2 separate regions of the Homo sapiens genome follow, and region 1 is linked to region 2. Evidence: promoter capture Hi-C in human tissues and cell types (Jung and others, 2019). All regions are on one chromosome and are shown on one strand. The core of a region is centred on a gene start or on the middle of the fragment in contact, and the rest is flanking DNA. Distances in the headings are between cores, read along the strand shown.

Region 1 (4,290 bases), core at 827-3,326, 170 kb after region 2:
TCAATTTTTAAACGTTTTATCAGGATGGATATCCAATATTCATAACCACAAGAATACTATTAATAGCAATATGTTCAATGTATTAGAATTTAAAACGTGCCAGTTATTGATCTTTTTCACAAGAATCCTATGGGATAAGTAGTATTATCCCATTGTTACAGAAGAAAAATCTCAGGCCCAGAAGTTGAGGCAATGAGGAAAAACAAGGGCTGAGATCGAGACACAAATCTAATACCAAAGCTCGTAAGTTTAATTGGTTTGCACAGTTCTTTTAGCCTGAGACAGTAAAACAAACTGAGTCCTTTTTGCTTCAGTAACATCTATAATTGTTTAGTTTTTGATAATTTATTATATATCAGATACTATTTCGTGTTTATACACAACCTTGTTCTAATGCAGTGAGGTTTTTTTTGATGAGGCTATCAAAGCAAATGGGAAATTATGATAGAAAAGTAAGGTAGAGCTACAAATGAGGACCTACATGAAATGTATGCTTCACAATCATGCACGTTTGCTTAAAGTCTGAAACAAATTTGACTCTATTAGTTAAGCAGCCAGCCCATCAAGGAAGAAAGATCCTTCCCATGCTTCTTTAAAAATCAATTACACTCTAAGTCATATTGTCCAAAGACAAAAGCAAAGCAGTAGTCACAGAGGAGCACAAATGTTCTCGGTGTGCTGCCACAAATACACTTCCTCCAGGATTCACGGAGAGAGGAGACCATGTGTGTAATACAATAAAGATTTCAGCCGCACTTCTACATTAAATCTGCTGAGTTTCATAAGTCTACTGTTGCCCTCATTATAGACCAGTGTTCCAGTACGATAACATAACTAAACAAAAGCAGTTTTGGAGACAGCAATGTGTTGTGCTCTGGGTGTGCAGCTATCTGACTGCATAGTTTAATTCAAGGATAGATTTTCCTGCTATCTAGATCAGCACAGTCTAATAGAAATGTAATGAGAGTCATGTATGTAATTTAAATTTTTCTAATCACTTTTAAAAAGTAGAAATAACGAAAAATTTACTTTATGTAGTTTATTTAATGCAATTTATCTAAAATACTATGATTTCCGCATGTGGCACCAGCCACATTTCAAGTGCTCAATATCCACATGTGGCTATATTACACAGCACAGATGTAGATGAATACATTAACTACATACTCTTTTGATATTCCACATATTATTTCACTCAACAGCTTGTGAGAGGTACTGAGCAGCACTAAGATCATCATTATACTCAATGACATATGCCTGTGTTGTCAAGTAAGTGCAGATCAGAGCTATGACAGACAACCAGGCTGGGGGAAGAATTGGCATCCATTTTTGAAAATTTAGTTACTTGATATAGACATGAGCCTGAATTGAACACTCTCATTTCAAGTCTGTAGGTGGACTTAAGGGATATCTGTGTACGTGTAAAAATTCTCCTCAAGAAATAATTTGGATAGCTTTCTAACACAGCCTAGGCTCCAGAGTTCAGAGTTCCACACGATAGTGTAATGCTGCAGTAATACTGGGAAAAATTGAAAAAGAAAAGTTGTTAATCCTTGATGCCTATTTTGCCCATTAGAGGAAAAAAAAATCTCAATTAAGCACTTTCAAACTATCCCAGCTTTTTGAGTAATATCATTTCCTTGTGTGCCCTTTGAAATAAATGGTTTTTAAAATGTAAATTTACTGTCTTAATGATGGGACTTACTATATGGTGATTAGTAAGTCTAATCTTAACTGTATGGTAAAATATAGTTTTGGTATGTTTTCTGAAGATGACAATTTTAGTTTGAGAATAACTTATCTTTAGCCCATATCTCATAATTCTAATAATAAATAGAAAATAGAGCCAATTATCCATGACACTGCCTGACTTCAAACTATACTACAGGGCTGCAGTAACCAAAACAGCATGGTACTGGTACAAGAACAGACACAGAGATCAATAGAACAGAATAGAGAACCCAGAAATAAGACTGCCCACTTACAAGTATCTGATCCTTGACAAACCCGACAAACACAAGCAATGGGAAGGACTTCATATTCAATAAATGGTGCTGGGAGAACTGGCTAGCCATATGCAGAAGAATGAAACTGGACCCATTCCTCTCACCATATACAAAAATTAACTCAAGATGGATTAAAGACTTAAACGTAAAACCCAAAACTATAAAAATCCTGGAAGACAACCTAGGCAATACCATTCAGGACATAGGCACGGGCAAAGATTTAATGATGAAGATGCCAAAAGCAGTGGCAACAAAAGCAAAAATTGACATATGGGATCTAATTAAAGTAAAGAGCTTCTGCACAGGAAAAGAAACCATCAACAGAGTAAACAACCTACAGAATGGGAGAAAATTTTTGCAAACTATGCATCTGACAAAGGTCTAATATCCAGCATCTATAAGAAACTTAAACAAATTTACAAGAACAAAACAAATAATGCTATTAAAAAGTTGGCAAAGGAAATGAACAGACACTTCTCAAAAGAAGACATACATGTGACCAACAAGCATATGAAGAAAAGCTTAACATCACTGATCATTAGAGAAATGCAAATCAAAACTACAATGAGATACCATCTCACACCAATCAGAATGGCCATTATTCAAAAGATACTGGTGAGGTTGTGGAGAAAAAGGAACACTTACTCACTGCTGATGGGAGTGTAAATTAGTTCAACCATTGTGGAAGACAGTGTGGCAATTCCTCAAAGACCTAAAGATGGGAATACCATTCAACCCAGCAATCCCATAACTGGATATATACCCAAAGGAATAGAAATTGTTCTATTATAAAGACACATGCATGCCTAGGTTCATTGCAGCACTATTCACAGTAGCAAAGACATGGAATCAACCTAAATGCCCATCAGTGATAGACTGGATAAAGAAAAGGTGATACATATACACCATGGGATACTATTCAGCCATAAAACAAGAATGAGATCGTATTCTTTGCAGGGACATGGATGTGTACATGTAAAAATTATCCAATAAATAATTTGGATAACTTTCTAACACAGCCTAGTCTCCAGAGTTCAGAGTCCCACACAATAGTGCTGCAGTAATACTGGCTGGAGGCCATTATCCTTAGCAAACTAACACAGGAACATGAAACCAAAATACTGCTAAATTCTCACTTAAAGTGAGAGCTAAATGGTGATAACACATGAACACATGGAGGGGAACAACACACCCTGGGGCCTATCGGAGGCTGGGGGTGGAAGGAGGGAGAGGATCAGGAAAAACAAGTAATGAGTACTAGGTTTAATACCTGGGTGATGAAATAATCTGTACAACAAACCCCCGTAATGCATGTTTACCTATATAACAAATCTGCACATGTATCCCTGAACTTAAAAGAAAATAGAGCCAATTATCTAATAAAGTCACCACTAGATCTTTGTAATAAAACCACACCATTCAGAAAATGGAGTAAAATGCAGCTATTTAACAGAAAGAATAAGATTTATGTGTATTAAGATATCACACTATATTAAGTTTTAAAAATCTAGTTGCAATTCTTACAGAAATAGAAACACAGGCTTGGCGCAGTGGCTCACATCTGTTATCCCAGCACTTTGGAAGGCCAAGGCAGGTGGATCACTTGAGGCCAGGATTTCCAGACCAGCCTGGCCAACGTGGTAAAACCCTGTCTCTACTAAAAATACAAAAATTAGCCAGGCATGGCGGTGCATGCCTGTAGTCCCAGCTACTCAGGAGGCAGAGGCATGAGAATCATTTGAACCCAGGAGACAGAGGTTACAGTGAGCTAAGATCACACCACTGCACTCCAGCCTGGGCAACACCACTGCACTCCAGCCTGGGCAACAGAGCGGGCAAAAAATAAATGAATAAATAAATAAATTAATTAATTAATTAATTAATTAAAGAAACACTGAAATTGAATTTATTCTGGAAAATTTATTGGAGAGATGGAGGAGACATAGATTTTAATTTACTTAATGTTATTTTTGTAATTTGGAAAATATCATTTATATAAAATAGAGTATCTTATTTTCTATAATAGATGGACAGGCTTTCAGTTCATATACCTACACAAAAATATATTGAATCATGGGTTTACAAATTTAAAAGAGGTGGAAGTAAAGACACCTTTTTTTTTTACCCCAAATGAAATTATCTTATTAATCACGAGACCATATCTGCCAGCCCCAACTTCTGTGGGCATTTTAAGGCACAGATTTGGTTTGAACATTATTTCTTGAAACTATCTAATGAGCTCATTCAGTTTGGACTATAATTGATTCCCAGCCTTTAAGTTCAG
Region 2 (4,493 bases), core at 1,584-4,083:
GAGATAGAAACACAGGCAAAGACACACACACATGCACTTAATATGGTCATACAGAATCAGACAAAGGGGTTTATTATCCTTTATGCCTTTGCAAGTGTTGCCAACATTAAAAGCTACAAAACTTGATAACTGGATGGCTCCCTAGAGACTGTCTAGTTCAACTCCCTCACTGGACAGATAAGTAGCTGAGGCCCAGAGAGGTTAAGCAACTTGGTTGAGGTCATTCAGCAGTAAATGGCAGTACCAAGACAAACAAGCCTTCTGACCTTTCCCACTTGCCCACCCAGTACTTGATCTGGCATCTTTCAGCAGGTCAGCATCCTGACCTTGCTGTGACAGGGTATTTAAAAAATAATAAATAATCCACACACAAAGGTTTCTCAGTCCTGCCCAGGTTCCCAAAAAGTACAAAAGCAACCTCAGCCCCCAAGACCCTCTTTCCAGAGCCTTCCCTCATGGGACTAAGGGAAGATCTCAGTTCATCTTGGGCCCTCTCCTAAGCCCTCTTTGGTGTAACTACTCTTTCAGTTCCTTCCTCACATCTACTCTTAAAGGTTGCTTCTAGAAATTCCCCGCCTCAAAGGTCAGGCACTTCCCAGGCAGAAGTTAAAACCTGTTAATTTGCAAATTCTCTGCTTCCCTCAAATGCTATAGTTTGAGACAGGAAGTACAGACTCCCTTAAGTTTCCTCCAGCCTCCTTGAGTGAATTCAGTCACAACTGATGCCTCCCTCCCGAATATAACTAGGTCCTTTTATAAATCATGTGAGTGTGTGAAGGGCTGGAGAACCCTTAAGTATGCCTAAGACAGGGAAGAGGAGGAAAAGGCCACCGAGGAAGGAAAGATCAATTGCGGGGAGAGGGGAGACCGGTAGAAGGAGCACCCTGACCAAGCTGCAAAGTCTGGATCCCAGAGACAGCTAGCTGCTGGGACTGACTCACTGCTGAGGGGCCGGAACTGCGAGGAGATGGCACAGTTTTAATTATAAGCTCTGACTAACAACAGACCGGTGCCCCCAACTGCACACGTAGGAAGCAGGCAGAGGCTACCCCAAAGTGGCAGAAACAAGGAACTCTCTGTTCCTCCTGCTCCCTTTTCGCCTCTCATCTGAGGCTTGCCACTCCGCGGACACACCCGGCGCTCGCCAAGTTGTCGCATCGCCCCCCGGTGGGGAACGCCCCTCCCTGCTCTCCGGACAATTGGAGGGAAGCACAGAGCAGCGGGGGTGTCTCCGTCCTGCCAAGGGCTGCCTGTCCCTCGCCCAGTGCGGGGAAACTGGTCCGAGAGAATGAATGGCTTTCGCCGAGCGCCGGAAGCTGACGGGCGTGGGGCGCTTCTTGCCCCCAAGCACCCGCGCCCGCGTGGGGTGTCCCTCAGCCCGGGTCTCTACTCTGAGGGTGAGAAGCGTTCGCGTCACAGCCAAGGGTTCCTTCCTCACACGTGCACCCACCCACAAGACCGGAAGGAAAGCTTCGCTTTTGCCTTCCCCCCTGCCCCCCGGCCCTCCCTACCTGAATTCCGGGACCAGGTTAGGCTGCAACCCGTAGATGGCAGAGGAAAGAGTAACCAGCCACCCGGGCTTGTAACTCCCGTTCTCGCACTCCAGATAAGGCGGAGACCACTTGAAGTGGCTCTTGTCCCCGCCGAGCCCGTCCTTGCGCCGCCAGCTGTGGCCCAGGCCCCGGGGCCCCTGATTGGGGCCGCGGCGGTGTAAGTGGGGCCTCCACTTGCGCCGGAGGCCGTGGAACCACTCGGTCTCCAGAGTGGCGTTGGCCAGGTGGGGTGCGGAGGAGGACAGGTCTTGGAGCAGGATGCGGCTCTCCTCGCGCGTGGCCTGGAGGAAGACCTGTGGGGCCGGTGCGGACAGCGAATCGGTGCTGAAGGTGATGGCCGCCCGGGAGATGCTGGGCTCGCCCTCCAGAAGGCTCCACACCAGCGCCTGGTACCAATCCAGGTCGTCCTGCAAGTTCTGCTCCCGCGACTTATTGCTCTGCAGCATCACGTTGAGGAAGTTGGTGGCGTGTGTCAGTGTGTCCAGCGCCCGGTGCAAGGAGGGGTGCGCGCTGGCCAGGGCTGGCCACTTCCCCGGCAGGCCCGCCAACTCGTAGCGGCCGGAGCAGTTGGCTCGCTTCAGCTGGTGGGAGTCCCCGGTGTAGAGGTAAGAGGCCACGTCCATGGGCACCTCCTCGGCGAGTTTCTGCGCCAAGATGGTGCCATCGGTGGAGCGGCTCCAGGGAGCCGAGGAGTCCGAGGCAGAGGCTCGACCCGGCTGCTGGGCGTGCGGCTTCCCCTTCGGGGTCCTCTCTCGAGGGGAATCCGGCCGTCCTTGGGGGTCGCGGCTGGCGCCAACAGCTCCCAATCCCAGCTGAGCAAGCAGGAGGCAGAGGAGTAAGGGGTAAGCCATGGCTCCCATCTGCCTCCCAGAGAGAAGAGGAGGGAACGGGAGGGGGGGGAATCACTTTTTAAATTTGGATCGTCAGTTTCTCAACAGTCAGACTTTTTCGAGGAGTCTTCCCCCTTCTCCAGATGGCACCCAGTCCAAAGGACTTGAAAATAAGAATGTTTCGAGATTGGCCCCGGGTGGCTAAGCTACCGTCGCAGAAATCAAGTCACCTGTGGCAGCGCTGGCCGTGCCCGCTGCGCGAGGGGCCGGCTGGGGATTACGCACCTCGCAGCCTGGAGCCGAGCGGGTTACATGGCCTCGCGCTCCCAGCGGCTGGAGTCAGCCCGAGTCCGTCTCTCGGCCCGGCTGCCGCCACCGCCGCTCTCATTGAGGCGCGTTCAGAAGCTGCTGCTGCTGCTGCCGCCGCGGCCGCCGAAGACGCTGCTCCATAGTCTCACCCGCCGCAGGTCGTTCCCGCCTCCCGGCACTGGCTCCTCCTCGACCGCTTCGCCCGGAGGCGCGGGGCGCGCGCCCAGACCCGCACCGCGAGCGCAGCCGCGACTCCCGAGGAGCGAAGACGTCCTTTAAGACGTTCGTCTGTCCGGAGTAGCGAAGGCCGGGCGGCTGGTTAATTGCAGCCTTTAGGTTTGGCCGCAAACCACACTCCACCCTCTCTCCCTGCTCCCTCCTCGGGGGAGGAAAGCCAGTTTAAAGAGGCAGCTTGGCCGCAACCAAACCCTTGTAGGGCGGCTGCAAGTCGTCTTGTTCCCTGTTTGGTCGGCTCCTCTGTCAATCAGCCGACTGCCATTTGTGGGGCCGGGGAGGGAGCTGTCCAGTGCTGAACCCGAGGCGGCCCGCGGGCGGCGGGGGCGCGGGAGGCAGCCTGCCGAGTCCTCGCACCCACTCGCGTTCCGGATGACTCGGAAACCTGCGTGGGTGGCGTAGGGTGGGCGGCAGAGGGGGGAGAAGCAGAGATTCGGTGGCTCAGAGCGAAGGAAACTTGGACGTACTGAGGGGGAGGGTGTTGGCGTCTTGCATGCTTAGTTAAATCAGCCTTTTGCCTGGAAAAGAGGGAGAAGGGAGTAGTTTTCATTTCTAGGTGAAATTAGACAGAAGGGACATAGGATGGAGACGTGTCCTCCTGAGCATCTGCTCATTTTAGGCAAATTATCAAATCATCTTTCTTGTTGTCAGTTAAAGAAATGATTAAAACATACTTGTCTAGGCTCATCTTAGCTGAGGGAGTAATGGAGAAATCTACCAGCTGTGCTTTAAGGAGAGAAAAAAAAGTCATATTTAAGGAATCTCTGCTTGGGGGCCAGAATGGAGGGGAACGTGTAAAAATGTATGCAAGTAAAGATGTGTAAGGGAGAGAGCAAGGGGGAGGACTCATGAGCTCTGGGAGAATGAGAAGGAGCCTGTGTTGAGTGAGAAGGGAAATCATCCTGACTGGGAGTTCCTGGAATTGAGAGATAAGAACTAAGACTTCTATTTAGCTAAAGGTTGGGATATCCCAGCAGAAGAAAGAAGAACTGAGCAAGTATGCCAAGTCCCCCAAATTATTGGTAAATTTCTTAACACAATCTAATTGATGTTTTGACGCTTATTAGAGAATTTAAGTGTCTTCTGACACTCCAAAAGTAGACTGGTACCAGAAAAGTAGTGTTTTGCACAGCTAGCTCCACTTTCCATATGCACCTCTATTTTCAAATTCCCCAAGAAAGACACAAATAGAAAATATCCAACTTACTTTAATTCCCAACTAACAAAAATGTCCCTCATGGCATTCTAAGCAGGCACTGCTTAGATTCACTGTACTATTTCATGTCATCCTTCCTATTGAGAAAATACTTAAGGACTGGAATGTAAGCTCCAAAAGAGCAAAAATCTTTGTCTGCATTGGTCACTGAGGTACCTTGAGCACCCAGAACACTACCTGGCACATAGTAGGCTCTGGCTAAATAGTTGCTAAATTAGTGAATGAATGGGAAGATCATGATGATGAAGCTAACTTAAAAATCAATCTCCTCACCCAAGAAGAGAAGTCTGCCTGACACACCAGTGATGAGGGTTTTTGGAAGAAGACACAGCAACCAGTTTTTCAAACCGC

The links. The method cuts DNA at HindIII sites, captures the fragments that hold promoters and counts their contacts. A contact is called where the count stands out against the background at its distance.
Region 1: a contact is called between a fragment that was not itself captured here and the fragment with the promoter of GPR158 in region 2, in 1 of the 25 tissues and cell types used here (dorsolateral prefrontal cortex).

Annotation. Positions count from the first base shown.
Region 1 is chr10:25,002,762-25,007,051 of GRCh38, reverse strand. All of the region lies in intron 1 of ENKUR (enkurin, TRPC channel interacting protein), which reads left to right. It also overlaps a transcript of THNSL1 not described here. Among named protein-coding and RNA genes, the nearest start is that of ENKUR, 11 kb to the left of the region's middle. The HindIII fragment of the contact is 8,073 bases long and covers 1-4,290 here.
Region 2 is chr10:25,173,341-25,177,833 of GRCh38, reverse strand. GPR158 (G protein-coupled receptor 158) reads right to left here and starts at 2,833. Exons shown (of 11, transcript NM_020752.3): 1 at 1,512-2,833. The coding sequence starts at 2,413. GPR158-AS1 (GPR158 antisense RNA 1) reads left to right here and starts at 1,558. Exons shown (of 2, transcript NR_027333.2): 1 at 1,558-2,158. The HindIII fragment of the contact is 11,687 bases long and covers 1-4,493 here.